Linked DNA regions of Homo sapiens: regions 1 and 3 are each linked to region 2. Evidence: promoter capture Hi-C in 16 types of primary human blood cells and fetal thymus (Javierre and others, 2016). All regions are on one chromosome and are shown on one strand. The core of a region is centred on a gene start or on the middle of the fragment in contact, and the rest is flanking DNA. Distances in the headings are between cores, read along the strand shown. Region 1 overlaps CYBRD1 (cytochrome b reductase 1). Region 2 holds the start of RAPGEF4 (Rap guanine nucleotide exchange factor 4). Region 3 overlaps DYNC1I2 (dynein cytoplasmic 1 intermediate chain 2).

Region 1 (2,700 bases), core at 187-2,686, 1.2 Mb after region 2:
ATTTTGGGAAATTTCAATCACTGTTTTGGAATTGATACCTAAGGCTTTCTTCTCCCCTATTATTTATGGGCTTTTTAATGAGATATTTTTCTCGGGAGATGCTTAGGTAGGAAATATCAGCTTTTGAAAGATAAAGGTACAATTATCATTAGAATCAAAAGCCCATTAAATAAGAGTCTCAAACAAAGGTTTTCTAGATATATTTTATATACGTTGTTTTCATAAAGATAGAAAAGAAATTCCTATAATATCTGTAAGATTATCCTCACATTAGCCCACATGAAAGATAAAATAAAGGGCTGAGATGGGGGGTGCTTAAATACTTTGCAACAGTGCTATTCTAGTGCCAAAGCCATAATTAACTTTTCACTGATAACCTGTTTCTTAGCCTATACAAAAAGGAATGGCCACCTCAATTCTGGCGGCTTAGTCACTATCTAATCCCTTCCTCCAAAAACCCTGGAATTTTGTGTTCCTCTATGTAATGGAACATCCAACTTATCAAATGATGTGTGACTATGCAACTACTCCTTCTATGGCACCAAGACTGTACCATGCTCCACCCATACTGAATTTAATTGTGCTACCACTTTGTGCCAGGCAGAGGGCTGGGTACTGGGGATCCTTCTGGCTCTATTACCAATTTTGGAAATAGAATTTAGTAGAGAAGAAGAGAACAGTGTTGCAGCAAGGGGATCTTGAATGGTTTTTCATGAAGTTTAAGGGATATGATGGAGTGTGGCTTGTATTCAGTCTTTGGAAGTAAGTACCAGTTACCTAAAAAGAAATCCACTAAGCACCAAAATGTTTAGTGTATTTGGTGTAGAGTTTCTACCCATATTAAAATGCTTCAGTTTAAAATTGAAGGGAAGGCAAAAAAATCAACCAAAAAATGAAAAGTATCATTTCAGCATAAGCACTACTCTAGGTTTTAATTTGTCAGCCCAGATCCCAGACAGAGATGATACTCCAAACATGAAAAGTCACCTCCAAGTCTCAATTCACTACTGAGAACCCAAAGCTCAAAATATCCCCTAAAATTCCATAAAAATCAGGAAAGACCCTAGCTATTGCCCCAGGGAAGGGCAGACCATGAGACAGGTCTCTTTTAGCTCCAAACTGAAAGTTGTTCAGCAGCTAAAATCCTGAAGAAAAAAATATTGCAATTAATTAACTTGAAAGCTACAGATATGCCTGTCCAAATCTTTTGTTACCAAGACACAATTTTAAGATCAAACAAGTGTCAAGGTAGGCCATGGCTTGTTGGCAGTAGTAGGGGCCCTATGGCCTATTTCCAGGTATGGGTGGCCCCTTTTCCTTGGTTATCTGGGGAATCTGCCACAGCAAACAGCAAAAGGTAAAAAGCATCCCTTTAATAACTACACCCCACTCCAGCAATTGAGGTTTATTCAGGGGTGGGTCAAAGTAGTACAAGACAAAAATAGCTTAGTGAAATGGTTAGAATCCAGACTGAGGTGCCAGACTGCCTGCATCTGAGTCTCAGTCCCACCATGTATGAGCCGTGTGACCTTGGGGTGAGTTACTAGCCTCCCCAGGCTTCAAATCTCTCACCTGTAAAATGGGAACAGTAACAATACCTACTTCATCCCGTCTGTCTGGGGACTGAATGAGCTAATATGTGTAAAGTGCTTAGAGGAGTGTTTGGAGCATAGTAAGTGCTGTGTGAGTACTTTCAAAAATAAAAACAAGAACTTGGGGAAAAGTGCTCTCTGAGGTTTGTAGGGCAGTGTATGCTACTTAAGTGTTGAAGCATATTTTCATTCTAAGAAGTTTAGCATCTGGATCATAAAGTACATCAACCCTAGGGAAGTCTTGGGGCTAACTTCAGTTTTGGAAATTCTTCCAAGTCTGACCAGAGAAGATCTCTTCAACCACCTGCTCTAATCTATCAATACCCTAACATAAACCCTAGTCTCCAGGGACAATTTGAGCCCAAACCAGCTGGGGAGGGAGCAGAAGGCAGGCATGGGGAGAAAGGAACCAGGTGCTTTCCTAAATTTCTTTAATATACTCTCATCATGGTATCTGTGTAGAGTCATGATCTAAACCCTGTCCCAGATATTCCTTATCGGATTTTAAACTTTTAGGACTGCTTCCCGCTAGTTGTGAAATCATTGTCTCCCAGAATTAACAGGAAATGACTGCATGACAACAGGCCAGGGATGCTGCCAGTTTATCCAATTAACTACTAGTAGACACATATTCACATATTGAGTATCTATTCTGCACAAGGCACCGTGCTAATGTTGTGGTCCTCAACAAGATAAAGGTAACATAACCACAATTTATATCTGCTATTATTTATATTAATCACATCCTTTCCAATTCAGGTCAGTTCATAGGCCTCAATCAATACAAATTATTTCAAGAAACCATCCTTTGTGATTAAAGTAAATATTGATACTACATAGCCCAATTATCATATGGCTAATAGGAGAAGCAAAACTGTAGAGCTAGTTTTGAAACGTGACGTTATATGGCTCTATCTCTACAACATTTTACATGGTAGATCTCTGCCCAGCCTCATCCAGAGCTAAGTTTCTTTTCCTTGCTGCTACTTCACTGTTTAACTCTGAATCTGATTTGTCCATGTTGTTGCCAGAGTAGGCTGGCATGGAACCTCTTGCTCCCTGTTCAGTGCCTCCATTTGGATGAAGAATGGTAGAATTTGGCTCCTTA
Region 2 (2,700 bases), core at 110-2,609:
CTGCCAAAAAATCTTGCTACTGAGTGGTAATTGAAAGTCAAGATTATTTCTCAGATATATTAAGCTTTTCAAATGAGCTACATTTAGCTTTTCTCAAATTACTTAATATTTTTCAACAAAGGCCTATAATAGAGTATGCAAAGCACGTCACACTTAAGATTTTCAAGTTTGATCTGGTTACGAATCTGTTAATTGAAAATTTTTCAATATGGCAGAGCACAAAATATTTCACACAAATGCAAATAGAGATGTCATGCAGATAGCTGCAAGACGTGCATCATTGCCCTTCTGCATCAAACTCCGAAATTCAGAGGCAGTTCACTCTGCAAGATTTCTTGCTCAGTTCTTAAAAGTTCAGATGCATCACCTTTTAATCAGGGTAATAAGCTATAATTGCTAACATACTGTGTAACGTTTAAACCTGCAATCTGGACAAACAGAAAATTATGCTGTCACAGCCTGGAAACAACTGCAATCCACTGTTAACACACACATCCTCCTTAGAGAGAGCTGTCGTCGGGAGTTACATGCTTTATGGTTTTAATTATTTTTAGCGTAAAGATCTTTTCCCGAGAAGCAGGTATTAAGACGAAAGCAGCCTCCCAAATGACCTTCTCTAACACAGACCTTGAGCGAGCGACTGCGGGGGCAGAGAGCTGTGAATTTCAGCAAGGGATTCGACAGCTCCACCGGGTCCCTCACACTTTGCTTTCAAGAACAAAAAAAGAATGTTACTCTGCACCTGCCGGTGCCCCCACCCCTCTTTAAAACTTCATACCCCGCAAGGTCTGAATAGCCGGAAAGGGTATGCATCGATTCTTCTGTCCCGTGATGCCAAGAGAAAATAAACCCCCACCCAGGAGCGGAGCCTGGAGTCGCGGCAGGGCAGGGGGTTGGAGAGGTGGGTGCTCTCTCCCCTTACTGCGCTGCATTTTCTCCACCACGTGTAATAATCTCATGCCGCTGGCACCCCACGAGAGGCGGGGATCCTTGTCCTCCTGTCTCCCGGACGAGGACCTCAACCCCTTCCCCCGCTCGGGGACCCCGGCCACCCGCAGCCCGGCCGCGCTGCGCCCAGGTGCGGAGCTGCGGCGGTCTCAGGGCCCGGGCAGCACCGCAGAGCTCGGCCCCCGGCTGCGGCCCCCGGCGAGCTACCTTTTATCCAGGCAGGCGATCCACTCGGCAGAGGAGGAAGAATGGGCAGCGTGCGCAGCGACCATGTTGAGCGGCGGCGCGCGGTGTCCCTGGCTGCGGCGACCTCCCGCGCTCGCTCTGCCTGCGCCTCCGCCCCCGCCTCGTCCGCCGCGCGGACCCCGCTCCTCCCGGACGCCTGGCGACCAGCGCGGCTGCGACAGGCCCGCCCTCCCCGCGGGCTCCCGCGGCCTGGGGCGGTGGGGAGAGGGAGGGGACCCGGGGGGCGGGACGCGGGTGCGGGGAGGGCCGAGTCGCCCGCCCGCCCGCCGCTGCACTGCGGCGCCCGTGGGTGGGGATTCCGCCCCGGGGTGGGGACCCCGCGGTCCCGCTGCTGGGGGACACTGGGGGTGGCGACCCCGGTGGCCGGCCACCTGCGACAGGTGTCCGCTGCGTCCCTCGGAGACTGGGGCCCCACCCTCACCCCGGGGCCTCTGAGGCGGGGCGGGAGGGCAGGCGCCAAGGCAGAGTGGGGAGAGGGCTGCCAGTGTCTATATATTTTTCATACAGCAAATGCTACTAAAATGGCTGCTGCCTCTCTGTTTCCTTAGAAACCCATGAGTCTTCCTCAGCAGCTGTCGAAACTTGCCGGCGGTTGCTTGCTCACCTTTGCTGTCTCCCCTTCAGAAAAGGCTGGAGGGGAGGGCGAGGAAGGCTTGGCGTGGGGACGCCCGTCGAGTCTCTCAGTGAGGAATGAGAGGCCAGCTTCTCCTGCGGGGTGAGGAAGGGCTGGGCGCAATGGGGGGCAGTGCGGGCAGGGCTGAGGGGCAGGGAGGGAGGAGGCCGGTGGGCCCGATGTGGTCTGAGGGGGTGACAGGCTGAAGTCACTGGCCTTGAACCCTGGGCCTGCCTGGGCTTCCATCACCTGCATGGTGAAGAAAACACAGTTGAGAATGGGGAGTAGCCGGGCCACAGCAGAACCGAGACCCCGGACGCGCAGGTGAACTTGTATGGCTGGCCCCCTTGCTGTTCTTCCTCTGGCTGGAGTGTTGAATGGGTGGTGATAACGGCCTGTCTCTTGTAGATGTTCACACAAATGTCATGTCTACAAGTTATTCAGTTACACTCTGCCAAGAACCAAATTACACGCCAATGGTTGTTTAGGAATTTGCGGACAAGTTAAATGTTTTGGACTATTACCAAGCACTGTTTTGATATTTATGGCACTACATTTGGGGCCAGACAATGGGGGAAAGGGACATAGCATTGCTTTCTTCTACTGTTCCCTGCCTCCTCCCCCCACCAAACCTCCTATCCAACCCTGCTCAGGGGAGAGTCAGGGGGACTGGAGAGAAGGAAAGAGCAAGTGCTTTCTGGGATGCTTTGATCCTAATAAAACAATTATTACCATGATATAAAAGCCTCCAAATATGTGCCATTTCCCTCTGCTGGATAGCCAGGATCTAGTTTCAGACCTGCCACAGTGTTCCCACAGCAACTCCTCCCTCCCTGCTCAGGGCTTTTCCCCCAGTTAACCTTCATTCTGTTAATTTCTATCATGTTTATGCT
Region 3 (2,700 bases), core at 171-2,670, 1.0 Mb after region 2:
AGCCTGGGCAACAAGAAGGAAATGCCATCTCAAAGAAAAAAAGAAAGATGTAAGGTCACCTCACTCAAAAAGAGGATTTTTCTCTCCGTTAAACTCACAAGAAACCAATTTTGTATTCATTATCTAACAAGAACAAATACTTTAAAAAATATTAACTATTTGTTTTTGTGTTTTACAATTTATCATTAAAAAAACTATGCTTCACACTAAACATAGCACACTACCCTTAGGGCTTTCCAATAAAGTCAACAGTATCTTTAAATTAATGATGTAATCACTACAATGTAAATTCTATGAAAGCAAGGACCATGAATGTTTTATCTTCTGTGGTAAACCATAGTATTTTAATAAAGTTGGTAACTTAATATTTGTTCTATACATGAATAAATATTTTTCTTACCATTATTACTCCCTGTATTAATTTACAATATTCTAAAAGGTCTCTAATAATCTCTGGGTTGTCCATAAAACTCATGGGGACATGTTTTAATTCACATTAATTTAAAAAACTTAAGTGTCAAAGTACTTTTGAAAGCAAACTTGCTGACACTGAATTAAAATAATCTACTATTCAAAATCAGGAACGATGAGTCATAATGTACACAGTATAGTATCTACATAAAAATAATGTATAATATCAAATAAAGACATTTAATAAATATAGTAATTTTTAATCTTGGGAAACATTTTTACTATGGTAATGTTGTAGAAGGGAAAAAAAAACGCTTTCACTTAAAAATGCCAGTTGATTATTAATTGTCTAAAGGAATAGTGGCTGGGTGCAGTGGCTCATGCCTATAATCCCAGCACGTTCGGAGGCCAAGGTGGGTGGATCACTTGAGTCTGGGAATTCGAGTCCAGCCTGGGCAATATGGCAAAACCCTGTCTCTATAAAAAATACAAAAATTAGCCAGGCATGATGGTGCGTGCCTGCAGTCCCAGCTACTCGGGAGGCTGATGTGGGAGGATCGTTTGAGCCCAGGAGGCAGAGGTTGCAGTGAGCCAAGATTGCGCCACTGCCCTCCAGTCTGGGTGACAGAGACCCTGTCTGCAAAAAAAATAAAAAATAAAGGAATAATGACATATTTGTATAAAAATATAGAAGCACAAAATATGAAAAAAAATTTTAACCCTATAAAAATGAATTTACACTAGACAAATTGTCTTTATTCTGTAATGCATACTATTTTATAAGGTAATAACATTATTTCTAAAAAGAAAATTTTGATTTTCCTTAAATGAAAGAGTTATGTCATTTTCCTCCAAAGATAGTATAGCTTAGATTTGTGATTTTGGTTCTATTTGGAAAGCACTTCTCAAATTCAAGCTGGCAAGCTTTATGTGCCTTTTAATTGTTAATGATAACCTGATTATTCAAGAGCTGATTGAAGTATTGAGTTTACAGATCATCCAGCCACCTTGCTTTTTTTTTCTTGCCCTGTCTTTTAGATATTTATTACTGGTTTGTAACTTCAACTAGAGGGACTCAGGCATAAAAAGCTTAAAACTTCTAACAGCTTATGTCTTATTAAAAGGTGTGTTAAGAGATTTTCTTGGTGAGGACATGCAACTTCCTGGCCCAAAATAAGCATTCTTAATCAGCTGTGGATTTTGACTACCTATGTTTAATTTCATTTCAGAAGTCAAAAAGTACATTTAATACTCACTATTTTGTGTGTGTGTGTGTGTGTGTGTGTGAGAGAGACAAAGAGGAATAAGTAGTAATACTTTTCCCAATATGATCTTTGAAAGAAAGCTGAAATCTTACTGAACTTTTGAAAAGCAAGTCCCAACATGTATGCAGGATCCTAAAACAAACACGAAATGTAATTTTACAAGGAAGATGCAAGTTCAGGAATGCTTGACAGTAAACATTCTCAATGTTGTCCTTAGCAGTTATTCCTTACTCTTGACATTTTATGCATTATTATTCTCTATCTTAATTAGCAGAACTAATGACTTAATAGAACAGAATTGAACTGTTTAACAGAATTGTTTACATTTTCAATTACTGAATGGGGAATCAAGCACAAGAGAGAGGTTTTACACTATTTACACCCAAAACATTCACGTAATAACCAACAAAAAGTTTAAACAGAAAAATCTAAAAGCATTAATATCTCTATTTTTAATATAAAATAATTAGCATAAAACCGGTTGACTATTTAGTACTAAGTTAATTAAATGTGACAGTTAAAATATTATTAAAAAAAAACAAAGAAACCTTTTTTTTCTCCCAGTGTCCAACAGAGAATTTCTATGCCATTTTAGATTTTAAAATGTTAGGACTAACTCGACACAACTATTTAGAGTCCCTTTAAAGTATCAACAGTATTTGGGCACTGAATGCATTCTATCATTAAAACATTAAAAGGAAAATTACTGTACCTAGATCCCACGGCGCCATCTCCAGAGTCTTGGCTTCCAGCTTCACTTGGAGTGCTCACAGATTTGGAGGATGGAGACATAGGAGGAGGGACTAAATAGTGAAATAGACAGGTATCCGCTGTTACTACACGGAGAGGTTGCTCAGCTTATGACGTTTCAAAAATAATTTAATGAAGTAATTAACAAAAAAGAAAAAAACAATGGCAAACCAAAAATCAAAAATATATGAATGAAAATGAACAGCAGAAAGAAAGGGGAAAAGACAAAAAGTTAACAATGCATGCTGAAGATTCATGCAATTTTTCTGGCAAA

Evidence for each region. The method cuts DNA at HindIII sites, captures the fragments that hold promoters and counts their contacts. A CHiCAGO score of 5 or more calls a contact.
Region 1: a contact is called between a fragment that was not itself captured here and the fragment with the promoter of RAPGEF4 in region 2, in 4 of 17 cell types (non-activated CD4 T cells, naive CD8 T cells, activated CD4 T cells and 1 more). The highest score is 6.7, in non-activated CD4 T cells.
Region 3: a contact is called between a fragment that was not itself captured here and the fragment with the promoter of RAPGEF4 in region 2, in 4 of 17 cell types (naive CD4 T cells, activated CD4 T cells, non-activated CD4 T cells and 1 more). The highest score is 9.2, in naive CD4 T cells.

What each region holds. Positions count from the first base shown.
Region 1 is chr2:171,554,647-171,557,346 of GRCh38, reverse strand. It overlaps CYBRD1 (cytochrome b reductase 1), which reads right to left. Exons shown (of 4, transcript NM_024843.4): 4 at 1-2,700. The coding sequence ends at 2,520. Among named protein-coding and RNA genes, the nearest start is that of CYBRD1, 34 kb to the right of the region's middle. The HindIII fragment of the contact is 3,012 bases long and covers 1-2,700 here.
Region 2 is chr2:172,734,504-172,737,203 of GRCh38, reverse strand. It overlaps RAPGEF4 (Rap guanine nucleotide exchange factor 4), which reads right to left and starts at 1,359. Exons shown (of 31, transcript NM_007023.4): 1 at 1,156-1,359. The coding sequence starts at 1,220. RAPGEF4-AS1 (RAPGEF4 antisense RNA 1) reads left to right here and starts at 998. Exons shown (of 4, transcript NR_026995.1): 1 at 998-1,078; 2 at 1,743-1,909. The HindIII fragment of the contact is 2,798 bases long and covers 67-2,700 here.
Region 3 is chr2:171,707,066-171,709,765 of GRCh38, reverse strand. DYNC1I2 (dynein cytoplasmic 1 intermediate chain 2) reads right to left here. Exons shown (of 18, transcript NM_001378.3): 5 at 2,389-2,479. Among named protein-coding and RNA genes, the nearest start is that of DYNC1I2, 21 kb to the right of the region's middle. The HindIII fragment of the contact is 165 bases long and covers 1,338-1,502 here.